Regions from separate parts of the Homo sapiens genome. Here region 1 is linked to region 2. The links are contacts of gene promoters, found by promoter capture Hi-C in blood cells and fetal thymus (Javierre and others, 2016). All regions are on one chromosome and are shown on one strand. The core of a region is centred on a gene start or on the middle of the fragment in contact, and the rest is flanking DNA. Distances in the headings are between cores, read along the strand shown. Region 1 has its middle 230 kb from the start of LINC01254. Region 2 holds the start of APCDD1 (APC down-regulated 1).

Region 1 (6,894 bases), core at 2,553-5,052, 270 kb after region 2:
AAAACAACCCCAATGTATTCTCTGCTAGTTCTGCAGGACAGAAGTCCAGAGCCAAGGTGTGGCAGGCTGCTTCGTTCTGGTGGCTCCGAGGGAGTCTGCTCCTGCTTCTGGTGGCTTCTGGCATCCTTGGCAGTCCTTGAGCAAGCCTGGCTTGTTGTCGCCTCACTCTAATCTCTGCTTCTGTCTCCACGTGGCCTTCTCTCTCTGCGTTGATGTCTTATCCCCTCCCTTTTCTCTCAGAAGGACACCCTAAATCTACAATCATCTCATTCCAAGATCCTGAACTTAATTACACCTGCAAAGACCCTACTTCCAGATAAGGTCACGGGTCCCAGGGGTTAGGAGACAGACATATTTCTTTGTGGGGCACTATTGAGCCATGACAGGCTCCCTCTCTACTGAGAAGTTCAGTAACTTATCCTGAGCCACACTGGGCTTCCAGGTAGGATTTCAGCAGGATTCACACTGTGGCTTTTACCAACAAGTGCGTTCCCCCTTGTCTCCTCTCTCTGAGACTACAGCCTCAGTGGTACTGAGAGGTGTGAAGCCAGCTGGACTTCCTGGGTCGAGTGGGGCTTGGAAAACTTTTCTGTCTTACAAGAGGATTGTAAAATGCACCAATCAGCACTCTGTAGCTAGCAAGGGGGTTGTAAAATGCACCAATCAACACTCTGTAAAATGCACCAATCAGTGCTCTGTAAAATGCAACAATCAGTGCTCTGTAAAACGCACCAATCAGCAGGATCCTAAAAGTAACCAATCGCAGGAAGGATTGAAAAACGGGCACTCTGACAGGGCAGAAATGGAACATGGGCAGGGACAAATAAAGGAATAAAAGCTGGCCACCCACCAGCCAGCAGCAGCAACCCAGTGGGGTACCCTTCCAGGCTGTAGAAGCTTTGTTCTTTTGGTCTTCACAATAAAATTTACTACTACTATGGGTCCGTGCCATCTTTAAGAGCTGTAACACTCACCGAGAAGCAGCTTCAGTCTTGAAGTCAGCGAGACCAGGAACCCACCGTCAGGAACCAACTCTGGACGCAGTACCACAATGCAGGCCAGGCGAGAAACAGCATGGTGGGCTAGCCTGCTGAGGCTGATGTAACGGCGCCACATCCCGCGCAGCTTAAGCAACAGAAAAGTACTTCTCAATTCTGGAGGCTGAGGTTGGAGATCAAGGCGTTGGCAGAGCTGGTTTCTCCTGAGGGCTCCTTGGCTTGCAGATGGCCGTCTCCTCCCTGTGTCCTCCCATGGTCTTTCCTCTGTGTGTGTCTCTGTCTAGTAAGGTCGCCAGTCCTATCTGATTAGGGCTCACCCATGGACCTCATTTTAACTTAATTAGCTCTTCAAAGGCCCTAGCTCCAAAACAGCCACATCCTGAGGTATGAGGGGTTAGAACTTTATCACATGAATGGGGGGTCAGAGGCACCATTCAGCTCCAAACAAGCAGTGGAAGACTTGGAACCAGGAGCGAGCAAGCACTGGGAAAGGGAATCCAGGCAGCATCCCTCAGAGGGAGTGGTGGGTAGACTTGTGGAGCGGAGTTATCACAAGGAAGAACCACTTTCTCCCATAGAAAGCATGGCAGACACTGAGTGTGTTCCATACAACTCCTTTTGAGGGAAAACCACAGGGCCACTCTCCTGCCATTGCAAATCCCTATATAATGTGACAGAGGCCCATGCAGACTCTCAGGGAGTGCAGCTCCCCTGGGAAAGGGTCATTTGCGGAATCAAGAGGAGCTATTCCAGCTCTTCTGTGGTAAGATGAATCAGAAGTCAGTTATTTCCCTTGCCTTGTCCACACCTACAGAAACTAAATTAATTTAGATGCATTTCTTTCGGGGGTTCCTGTCTTCTGTGAACCTGAGTGTAATTAATGCTTCACATTGCATAGTTCTTTGCTCCTGACCACTCATTGTCGTTTGCATTGCCTCCCTTTGTTGATATTCAGAACCACACTGCGATCCTGGTGTTACTTCTCTTATCCAGATTTTACAAATGGATCAGTTAGGAGAAACTACTCATTCAGTTGTTCACTTAGTAAGTGGCACAGGTGAGATTTGAACCCAGGGCTTCTAACTCTTTCTGTCACATGACACAGACTTGCACAAGGCATGTAGGCTGAAAGCTAGAAACCTCTGAAACGTGTGTGCCCGACCTCGCTTCCCCTTGTTCTCCATGGGCGGTCCCACTCGGAGGCCATTCTATATCTGGTTCCAGGAGGCAGCCTGAGCCCACAAGCGGACATCCATAGCCCTGGTCCCACAGTCTTGATGGGTGTGGATGGAGACAGGGTTGGCAACCTTGGGTTAAAGGGGCAAGGGTGAGTCATCAGTGCCTGTGTCCCTGAGAACACCCATTCTCAGCTGCCCCCGTCCCCAGTGTCCACCTGGCCTGTAGTGATGTCATCCACAGGACACAACTCTGCCCATGTTCCCTCTCTTGTACTTCTACCAGCCCTGAGCCCATCTGAGGCTGTGTTCTCTGTCCAGGCCCCAGAGGCCTTGCTTCATTGTCAGTCTCGGCACCTAAGGAAAAGCCTCTTGCCAGTCTCTTCCTGCTCCCCATCAGCCCCTCACTGCTGAAGCCCATCAGGCCTCCAAGCCCACTGGAGGCTGCACAGACAGCCCCCCATTCAGAGCTCTGCTCCAGTGTCCCCTCTTCAGAGAGGACCCCGGAGCAGCCCAGCTAGCATTCCTCCCCAACTTCCTCTCCGGCCCCTCTGCTCAGCCACAAAGCCACTCTAATTATAGGACCTTCTTACGGCACTAATCACTGCATGGAATTATTTGATTTAGGTTTTCTCTTGGTTTGCTAGCATCTGGAACTCCAGTGTGACAGCAGGCCTGGCTTACACATCAGTGTCAAGAAGTGCACGTGTGAATAAGTCCACAGCACTAGCCCTCTGGACGCTGGCACAGCCTGGGCCCCGGTCACAGTCTCATTTGGTAGAGAAACTCACAGTCAGCCTGTTGGGAGCCTGCTTGTGAGACTCACTTAGTATGATTCCAATAAGGATGGATAGAAATGGACCTCTGTGCCATTGAGACTCTTGTCATCAGGCCTATTTGATTTGAGTCTCGTCGTCTCGGGATTGTTTTTTCTTTCCTACAGCCAGCTCCTGGTAACGTGATGAAGGCAGACCCTGACACAGGACAAATCAGGCATCGGAAACTTTTCTGGCCACTGGAATTCCCCTTCTTTCTTCCCCTCCTCCTACCTTCCTCTAATCATCTCTCCTTCTCCCTTTGGACAATGAAACTTGTACATCCAGACTTGTTTAATTTGCACCAAGTAAATACACAGGTTCTATTAGCCAAATTGAGCATTTGTCAAACATCCAGAATCTCTTTCCCAATGAGATGTCCCTGGGCCAGAATGAGCTGGGCTTTAAGGCTGGCCAAATGGGGCCATTAACTCTGGTGTTGTCGTGGCAACCTACCCCTCTCCTAGAGGAAGATAGAGGGACAGAGGATGGGGAGAGGGGAAAGAAGGGAGGGTGGGCATCTGGGTGATGACTTATTGGGGCAAAATTCCCATTTTCTCCCAATGATTGTGGAGTCCATACTTAATCATTGCCCTAGGAACTTTGCCCAGTATCAAAGCCAAGCTCTTTACCTTGGTGGATTTAAATGTTTAAAGTGCATTTCCTTGTAGCTGGGGTTCAGAGAGAACATCAGAGTCCAAGGCTTTATTGCCCCCTACCTTAAGTTTTCATTTTTTGCTGTGGTCTTATTTGGTTTGGGGATCAGGGTTATACCGGCTTTGTAGAATGAGTCTGGAAGAATTCTAACTCTTTCAATTTTTTGGAAGAGTTTGAGAAGAATTGGTATTAGTTCTTTAAACATTTGGTGGAATTCAGCAGTGAAGCTGTTTGGTCCTGGGATTTTCTTTGTTGAGAGACTTTTTGTTATTGATTCAACTTTGTTACTGGTTATTGGTCTGCTGAGGTTTTCTATTTATTCTTAGTTCAGTCTTGGTAGGTTGTATGTATCCAAGGATTTATCCATTTTTTTTTTTTTTTATGAGACAGAGTCTCACTCTGTCGCCGAGGCTAGGCTGGGGTGCAGTGGCGTGATCTCAGCTCACTGCAAGCTCCACCTCCCGGGTTCACGCCATTCTTCTGCCTCAGCCTCCTGAGTAGCTGGGACTACAGGCACCTGCCACCACGCCCGGCTAATTTTTTTGTATGTTTTTAGTAGAGATGGGGTTTCACCGTGTTAGCCAGGACGGTCTTGATCTCCTGACCTCGTGATCTGCCTGCCTCGGCCTCCCAAAGTGCTGGGATTACAGGCATGAGCCACTGTGCCTGGCTGAATTTATCCATTTCTAATAGGTTTTCAAATTTACTGGAGTATAGTTGTTTATAATAGTGTCTAATGATCCTTTGTATTCCCATGGTATCAGTCATGACATCTCCTTTTTCATTTCTGATTTTATTTATTTGAATCTGAGAAGAAGTTATTTCTAATATCTTTAACTATCAGTTGAGGGCTCTGGAGATCCACCAAACATGGTCATGAGAGAGGGTTATTGGGAGATACTGGTCACCAAAACTTGGCGTCACCCCTCGCACACACACACACACACCCCACACACAATCCACTGATGACAGCTAAGAGTCCCCAAGCGTAATCTTAGCCCCACTCTGTCCTCACTTGGACAAAGTACTGGTGCTAACATAGTGGAAATGCTTTTTCTCAGGTGTGAAAACACAAGCAGCTACTGTGTGGATTCACTTGATCAGGTATTGCCTTCTGGTAGGAGTCCAAGAGCTTTGATGCGAGAGCCAGCCTGTTCACACCCTGACTTCGTCACCAGCCAGCTCGGCCACACTGGGTCAACTGCTGAGCTCTCTAGGCCACAGGGGTGGTGATCGTGCCCACCTGATAGTTAATGCACACTAGCCACAGGCTTCCATCAGGAAAGAGTTTAGAACAATGCCCAGGCCACAGTAAACACTGTCTAAGAGCCAGACATTATTCTTAAAAGGCCAGCATGTATGAGAAAAATCTTATACAGTATTATATCACAGGTTTCTTGATGTCCTATTTTTGAATCTTTTTGATGCCTCTTTATTGAACACTAAGTGCTCTAAGAATAAATCATAAACAAGCCAGACTGTGTCCTCAGAAACTCACATTCTAGAAGGGGGGAGAATAAGTAAGCAGTGACGTAAATTCTGCAACAAGGGCGAGCTTGGGGCACTTCATTCCACATAGGCAATGTCCCTAATTCAGCCTTAGAGGGCCAGAGACAGCTTCCCTACAGGAGCTGAGTCCTACAGGTACATCCACAGTTTCTACACCTTTTCTCACCTATCAAATGCAGCAGCTTTTGTGTGCAATGGGATTATAGTTACAGGTAAAAGGGAAGCTCATAGATTTTCCATGTTTAGGACAGCATGCTTCTGACATTTAATGCTCTAATAACTTGAAGGCCAGACTGCTATTAATGTAGAGTCTCAGAGACTGTTGGGTTGTAGTAGAAAGAAATTGGAATGTAAGTCAAGAGACTTGGCCTTCAGTGTTTGCTGTCTACTGTTAAATTTGGTTAGCCTAAAGCTGCCTCCTTATATATTTTAAATTCAGCCTAACATTTCTCCATATATAGTGAACTGTAACCTAACTGCATGTGTAAACAGGTGTAACGTGCTCTTGTAACAAGGAGCCAAGTCTCAGCCAATGATAGAAGCCAGACTTCAATCATTCACAGGTCGCCAACTATTTAAACCACATTCAAATAAGGCAAACACCAAGCTGTAACCAATCTAGCTGTTTCCATACCCTACTTCCATTTTCTGCACATTACTTTCCTCTTTCGGTCCATAAATCCTTTCCAACCACACAGCACTGCCAGAGTCTCCCAAACCTATTCTAATTAGTTGGGTGGGGCTGGAAGAGGGGGTAACAAGGGGTGTGCTGCCTGACTTGTGAATCATTCATTATTCAATTAAACTCTGTTAAATTTAATTTGTCTAACAAATGGTGTCAGAAGTGAGACTTGAAAGTTAACTTCCAGTGACCCCCAGGAGCATTGAGCGACCAAGTGAGGTACTCAGCAGACCCACTGTGCTCACTGCCTTCTCACAGAAGCTAGGAATCATGGGTAAGTTCTCTCTCAGGTTCTGAGGTTCCATGGATTTGTGTTTTCAGCTCTTTGAGTTTGAACAAATTTTTTATTCAAACTGGGCTGAAAAGTCCCAATAAAAACTGGACTGAGTCCAGGATGGGATAGATCTGATAATTAACTGGCTTAGATCCATGTAGAAGCCTCAGATGTCCAACTGGGCCAGACAGAAACTGGCAGTGAATAATAAAATTGGGGTGGGGGGGCTTTCACGGGGGTGTTTGTGTTCTATTTCCCACCCCTATTTTTTTCTTGCATGGTGAGGTAGAGAAAAATCACTGGCTAAGTTAATAAAGGTGATCTGAGAGCCAAAGCCAAAATTCAATGTAAAATGAGATCTTTAAATTCTAAAAAACAAAACACCCCCCTTCCATCTACAACTACCCACACATATATAAGCATTAGACCCCCCAAAACCAGAAACACTTACAAAAAAGACAAAATCTTACTAAAAATAATGTAAAATTAGAATGCAATATTCCAAATAAACAATACTACACATTAAAAAATACATTTAAAAATAAGGGTTCTTAAATTAGACTGATCCAAAAATGTTTACTAATGTGTAGAAGCTTCTAAAATTTTTTCAATATTTTTATTGCCTCTTTCAAAAGACTATAAAAAACAAATTAAAATCTTAATTGACTAATTAATTTAGAAACTTAAATCTGCTAGCCTTTTGGCTTAATTACTATCCTTCTATAAAGGCTTTTTAAAAGGCTATTCTAGATAAAATATTTATAAAAGATAGACCCTCAGGTAG
Region 2 (6,686 bases), core at 3,669-6,168:
AGTCGTCTCTCTTTATGAGCAATATAATAAGGTCAAGTTTTCAAATTCCTGGCTCCACTTGACTTTAGTTGAAAACAAGTTACTTTTCTGTGCCACTTTATAGTGCCATAGTCCTCAGGGTGGACACTGGAGCTGAACCAGAGGTTGCAAAGTTTGCATGTTGGATCTGCAGCTGACTAGCCACATCCACCCTCTTCAACACAGTTGTGGTCTGTGTGTGTGTGTGTGTGTGTGTGCACGCTTGTGGGATTCCCAGCAGGGAAAATAGTGCAATCAACTGCAGTGTGCCATCCACTCAGCTCTGGGGCTCTACAATCAGTATTTCTTCCCTTCTCTCACCTAGATATTCTTCAAGAATCCTCAAGGAAGGGAGAATGCTACCTTTCGGCCAGTGGACCTGGCAAGTGGTGGCACTTGGCACATAGTAGGCCCTCATAGATGAACTTTCTGAATAAATGGTTAGCTGAATGAATGAAACCGGAAAACCCTTGCAGAACAGAATATCCTTAATAATTTTAGGATGATACCATATCCTTTCTCCAACCTTGAGATGTACATACCTATCACATGACTTTCCACAATAATTTTATTCCCAAACTGGAGAGGACTAAGCAATGGCCTATGTACACAAAACCAACCCATTAAGAACTCATACGTCCAGGATGGTAGCGGATTTTTTCCTGGTTTTCCCTGCGATCACTTCAACTCCAGGGGAAGAGTCTACTGAAGACATGCCTTGCTGTGTATCTTTCAACCGATGTAGACAATCACTAACACATCATCTTCTATTTCTGGTCTGAAATGTTTTATGCCTCCCTTTGATTGATTATATTGTCATCAGTCTGTCCCTAAATAGTAGTATGTAATTACACAGACATATCACCCACCTATATTTAGTTCTTTTCTCATTTAAGGGGAAAAAGAATGAACTCAGCTAGTATAAAAGAATGAAATTGGCTTGTCAATCTCTTTAACAGAGGATATTTAACATCTGTCTGAGACCCTTGCCCCTGTTGGGTACAGGTGAGTCATGCTTCTTTTCAAGACTTCATTTTCTTTTTATGACTAAGAGGAGGGAAAAAAGTGCAGGAAAGAATGTTTTCTTGGTCACAAAAACTGTCCTTAGTAAAATAGTTTTTCAAAGATTTCTATTTTACCCTGTATAAACGTTTCCTCACATTATGTCGGTTAAACTCTCATTTGGTAATCTGCAAAGTTTTTAAAAGTCTTGACAGAATAAGCTTTAATGAAAGGAGAGAGCTGAAAGAGCCTTCACCTCTCAGAAAAGTCAACGAATTCTACAAAAGTAAACAGGGTGTGGGAATAGAACATCTCTCCCAACATCAGCTCCAAAACTCAAAATCAAATGTTTCCATTAGCAAAGAGAATCAGGCACTCCACTGCGGCATTACAGTCACACTTATTCTGGATACCTCATGCTAATCTGTGTTTTGGAGCTGAATGGTTTCTAGAATTTGACATCTGAAACTTTTGTGGCTTTTATCTAAGCAAAGAAAACAGTGATAATGGACATCTTCCAGCTGCATACCTTCATGACATTAAATAGGCTTTATTTGGATTAAGTACTGCAATTGTTTTCAGAATTTGAAGAGGAGGAAAGTAAAACTGACATGTATACTTTTATGCCATCAAATTTTGAACTTGGGTCTCGCACCACATTTGCAGTCTTAAATAAACAACAGGCTCAAGTCTTGCCAGAGCCTCATTTACTCACTGATAGGATTTAGGGGTGATTTATAAGTTGCAATGAATTGAAATAGAAGTAGCCACAAAACCGAACAAAGACTGGATGCCAAACATAATGGTTATCTACTGCATCCTCACACAGGATGCACTTCTTGCACTTCTTAACCTGACTTGGTGGTGTAACAAATAAATCTCTAAATGATGTGTGAAACTAAATTTATTAAAGTTTATCACAGGAACATCCAACACCATAGAACAAATGCTTTTATCTACTAAGTTGACCCATAAATAGACAAATGGTATCCTATGGTTAGCAAAATAAAATGCCTATTTATCAGGAAAAAAAATCACTAATTCCTTAGAAGATTTCAAGAATTGCCTTCAGATTTATAACTTCTATTTAAATATATGATCACACTCCATCTGTTACTACAGAATTCTTAAATGCCTGCAAAGCGCCTATCAGTTGAGTACGACATATTCAGCAAACCATTCCCTTGGTTAGGTTGAGTAATACCCATTTGCTGTTAAAAGTACTTCAATCAAGTAGATGTCATGGGGGAAAGGGGAAAGGAAGAATATCCCATTCTTTTCTGGTGCTTTACATTATCCTTGCTAATTATGGCAAACCTTTCTTAAATCCTGAGGATTTATAACTTGAACAATGATTTCCTCTGTTTATTTTCTGCACTAGAGTCTGATACTCTCTGCTGGATCTAAGTAGACCTTTGAGCAACATTAGTTTTAATAATTGTGCCATTGCAGATTCTTTCTGAAATTGGATAACTTTTTATCGGTTTATCCATGTAACCCAACTCAACTTTGCAAACCTCCCTTTTTATCTTATCTTCATATATACATATGCACATATGTGTACACACAAATGCATACACACATACCAGCACGCACACGGTCTGTCTCCACTGTGCTCCCATTTATAGCTCAGACTGCCCTTCCCAGTTATTTCCTTGCTCCCCAATCCCCCTCCCAACACCATGGGGTCTGGGGAGCCCTCCTCCCTCAGATCCCCGGAGTTATGGAAGATTCCAGACTCAAATTCTCAAACTCAGGAGATTTGGAGCTCCTGTCTTCATTGAGGATATACTTGGGCTCTTGTTACCTGTCAGCCATTACTACCCCAGCTTGGACTGCTAAATAGGAAGTATAATTACAACCCCTACCTCTCAAAATAGGGAGAACATGTTCAGAGTTACCTTGTGTACAAGGTTGCATCTCTGAGGATCACTTTTGTAGTTTAAAAGGCAATGATTTTACCCCAAAAAATGCTGTTCATGCCAACTTTTTAAGTAATTTTTTAAATTTTAAAATCATTTGACCATACTATCTTTTTTCTTCACAGATATTACAACAATTTTTTTAAGGGGGACAATGTTTCCTGTTTCATCTCTCTCTTTTGTTTCTTGTGTGTGTGGCAGCTGCTGTTTGATCTGTTCATTGGCTCTGATTTGTTTCATGTTTCAGCCAAAGATTAAAACTGCTCTGTAATTCTAAGCAGATGGGCCTAGGAGTCCAACCCTATAATTATACCTTCTCTCTTTTTGCCCTCTGCAAGCCTTCCATCCCGACTGTTAAAATTCTGGGATCACTGGGGCTCTGAGTACACCTTGGCAACTGGACAGGTCTGGCCCAGCCAGACAAGTTCACAAAGCCTGTGGAGCTATGCGAGCCATCCACCTGGGGCAGGACTACAAAGAAAACAGCATCCCGGTGGCTTGTGGGTTAACAATTCTTCCCTTTCCTTGATCCTCCGGAGGGAAGGTCCTCAGCCTGACTTTCAGTCCTGGCTACCATGCATTCTGAAGCCGGAGCCCGCTACAGGTTTGGGGTGGCTGTGGTGGGTGTTGAGGAAGGAGAGCCGTGAAGTCATGCTGTTGAAACGTCAGGTGTCTGACCATTAGGGACAGTTTGCTCAGGACATCCACATCAACACGACGTGATCTGCCACGGCTTGTCAGGATTATGAACCCGACGCGCCATAAAACCTGCCTTGTCCACCCCAAAGAAATTCTGTCTTGGTGTTTTCAGCGCAATTTCTGGAACCCGCTGAAAGGGCTGATGTTCTCTAGCTAAAGGTTTACTAGAACCCCTGGGGAAAAGTGGCACTGGAAGCCCAGGAAATGGGACGTCAAGTTGGGGTGCACATTGGGAGACTGGTAATAATGATTAAATCTTGGCTAATAGGGGTCCCCTGTTTCTTAAAATTACACCCAGAGAACGCAACAGTCCACTTGGGAGAAAACCCCACAACCCCGCCTCAATCGCGAGGCAAAGTGCAGGCAGACAACAAACACTAGTTTTCAGAAGGCAGACAGACGTGTCTTTCCCAAATGATCAGTTTCTCTTTCCACTCTCCTAAACGCTTGGAACACATCAAGAGCCTGCTGCATTCTGGCATTTTGGAAAAAGGCTCGCAGAGCCGGCGATTTCATGGCAGTGTACAGTTGGAAAATCCAGCAGAGCGGACGAAAGTTTCCCTCGGACTGGATGCAACGGATTCTGGACATAAAAGGTGTCTGCGTGGGAGAGCTTCCACCCTTCCAAAAAGAACAGTCCCGCAGCAAAGAGCTCCGGGCGCCCTGGGGGAGAGCGGTCCCAAGCCTCGGAAAGTGGGCAGAGCCCCCTCTCCCAGGGCTGAGACGGCAGGCGCGGGGCTCCCCTCGGACCCGCCCCGCCAAGGGGACAGTGTAGGCCGTGCCGCGATCCAGACCCGACGCCTCCGCGGGCTCCGCGGCGCCCGGGCTGCCTCCGCCGGCTGGGAGCGCTCGAGTGGCCCTCGGGAACTCACCGTGAAGCAGGAGGGCCGGGAACAGGTATCTGAGCAGGAGGCGGCGCGGCCAGGACATTTCCAGTCCTGCTCTGGGGCCTCCCGCACGCCGCGCTCCGATTTGGTGCCCGGGCAACTGGGCGCGCGCTCTGCCCTCCGCCTCCGGCCGGGTGCGGCCGGGCCAGGCCGGGGCTTCAGGCGGCTGCCGCGCGCCCCATGCCCGGCGGGCTAGGCGCGGGGCTGCGGGGCGCGCGCTCTCTGGGCGCCGTCGGGCGGCTGTGGGCGCCCCGGCCCGGTCCGCGTCCCGGCCTCTCTGCCGCCCGCCCCGACTTCTCCGCGCCCGGCCCCGCGTCCCGCCCCGGCCGCCGCGTGCGCCGCTCTGAGCTGCAGTGGCCGCCACCGCCACCGCAGCTGCAGCGTCTCTTCATATTTCCAGCGCGCCGCCGGCCGGGCAGCCTGGCCGCGGCACGGAGGAGGGGCCCTGGAGGGGGCGGTCGGGGGAGGCGACGCCGAGCCACCGCCCCCGGGCAGCCGCCGCCGGGGGGGAGCGCGGAGACTTGAAAGGGCGCGTCGGGCAACGCCTCCCCTCCTCCCACTCCGGGCGCCCCTCCTCCCCCCGCTCCCCTCCCGCTTCCCTCCTTCCCCTCTCTCGCCTACCCCTCCTCTTCCAGCTTCCTACCCCTTCCATCCTCCCCTCCTCCTCTCCTCCCTCCAGGCCCCTCTGCCTCCCTCTGGCTCTGCGCACCCCTTTCTCTCCTCCCCGTCCCCCATTCCGGGCGCGCTTCCTCCTTGGAGGGGGTGGGAGCCTTTGGCCCCGCACCCCGCCCGCAAGGAAAGAGAATGCGCGGGTCACCCTTCCGCCTCCGCCCACTCCCCTGGGGAAAGGTGTTCAAAGGGGGTGCGGGCGGCGAGGCTGGAGGCCTGGCGTGGGATCCAAGCAAAGCGGCCTGCTGAGCCGGGGTGTGTGCCAGCGCGCAGCCATGGGAGAGAGGGGAGACCAAAGAGAGAGTCCTGGAGGGTTGCTGGGGGTGAGGATGCGTCAGTGCTGGGCCCCCTCGTGGGTGCGGTGCAGGTCTTCACTACAAATCGCCTACCCCGGCCCAGTGCCTGGCTCCTCTGGGGAGCACGGAGAACCTTGTCATAGGCCCCAACCTGGGAAGGGCACGGTGTAGGAGGCAGGAGCCCGTTCACTTTTTCCTCCCCCTTCCACTAGGCAAATGACTTGTTGAAACGGGAGAAATCTCCGAGAAACGCTCCCTGTCAGTCTAAGAACGTGCACTTAGGCCCCTTCGCCGAGTCCTCTTCTCTTCCAGAGCAAATTGAATCACCACAATCAAAGCTGATTTTATTTGTGTTCGCGGTCTTGTGGGGGAGGGGGGACTACATGGGCGTTTGAGACCCAAAGGCAGGAAGAGTTTCCCCTGGGGTCCTTCGTTCTCCAATGCGGGTACAAGGCAGTGGCCATCTGATTTACCTGGAAGGTCCCTCCTCTGCCAAGGGCCTGCTTGAGCCCTTCCCCTCTTCCAGCAGTTTTCCCCCTCCTAAGGTTAATGTCACCTCTTCTCCACACTAGGATAAAGAGCAGACAGGAGACCCAGTGGAGTCTAGAGAACATTTCTTGACGCAACCGTTAGTGTTTTTCATTTAAAAAAAAGATTAAAATAAATGCCTGATTTCCCAAGAGAATTCTCTGCCCCTTTGAACAATGCAATAATTCAACTCCTTATGTGTTAGACTTTCAAAAGTAGTTGGATCTTAGCAACGGTATAATAGTAAAATAGATGAGAATACATTTGACAGTTTCCACTTTTCTTTTTTTTTTTTTAACCTGAGAAATCCATGGGTGTTTTGATGTGATAGTGCTGACGCTGTTTGATGTGTCTTAATTTTTATCACCATCATTATCATCTTTCCATCATTAATACAGAGGATCATAAGATGTACCAGCTGCTCAGCTCACACGGATGTTGTGAAGATTAATGTGCTCCTGTTTGCAAATCTTGAAGATGAAAGAATACCTGTGTGGGCAAAAAGAAGATCATGAAAACGATGCCTATGAGCGCAGGCATTATTTTGTGTTAGTCTTGCTCTGCCACATCTTTCTGAGCCTGACTTTGTACCTGATCGTTCTCTCATCCCAGTTGCTAGGCTTGGGTAGCAGACTATGATTTGTAAGATTTGAATGTTTGCCAAG

The links. Contacts are between HindIII fragments. The CHiCAGO score rates a contact against its expected background, and 5 or more counts as called.
Region 1: a contact is called between a fragment that was not itself captured here and the fragment with the promoter of APCDD1 in region 2, in 2 of 17 cell types (M1 macrophages and naive B cells). The highest score is 6.2, in M1 macrophages.

The regions. Positions count from the first base shown.
Region 1 is chr18:10,185,645-10,192,538 of GRCh38, reverse strand. No RefSeq gene overlaps it. Among named protein-coding and RNA genes, the nearest start is that of LINC01254, 230 kb to the left of the region's middle. The HindIII fragment of the contact is 5,806 bases long and covers 900-6,705 here.
Region 2 is chr18:10,452,867-10,459,552 of GRCh38, reverse strand. It overlaps APCDD1 (APC down-regulated 1), which reads right to left and starts at 4,918. Exons shown (of 5, transcript NM_153000.5): 1 at 4,514-4,918. The coding sequence starts at 4,571. The HindIII fragment of the contact is 7,093 bases long and covers 1,244-6,686 here.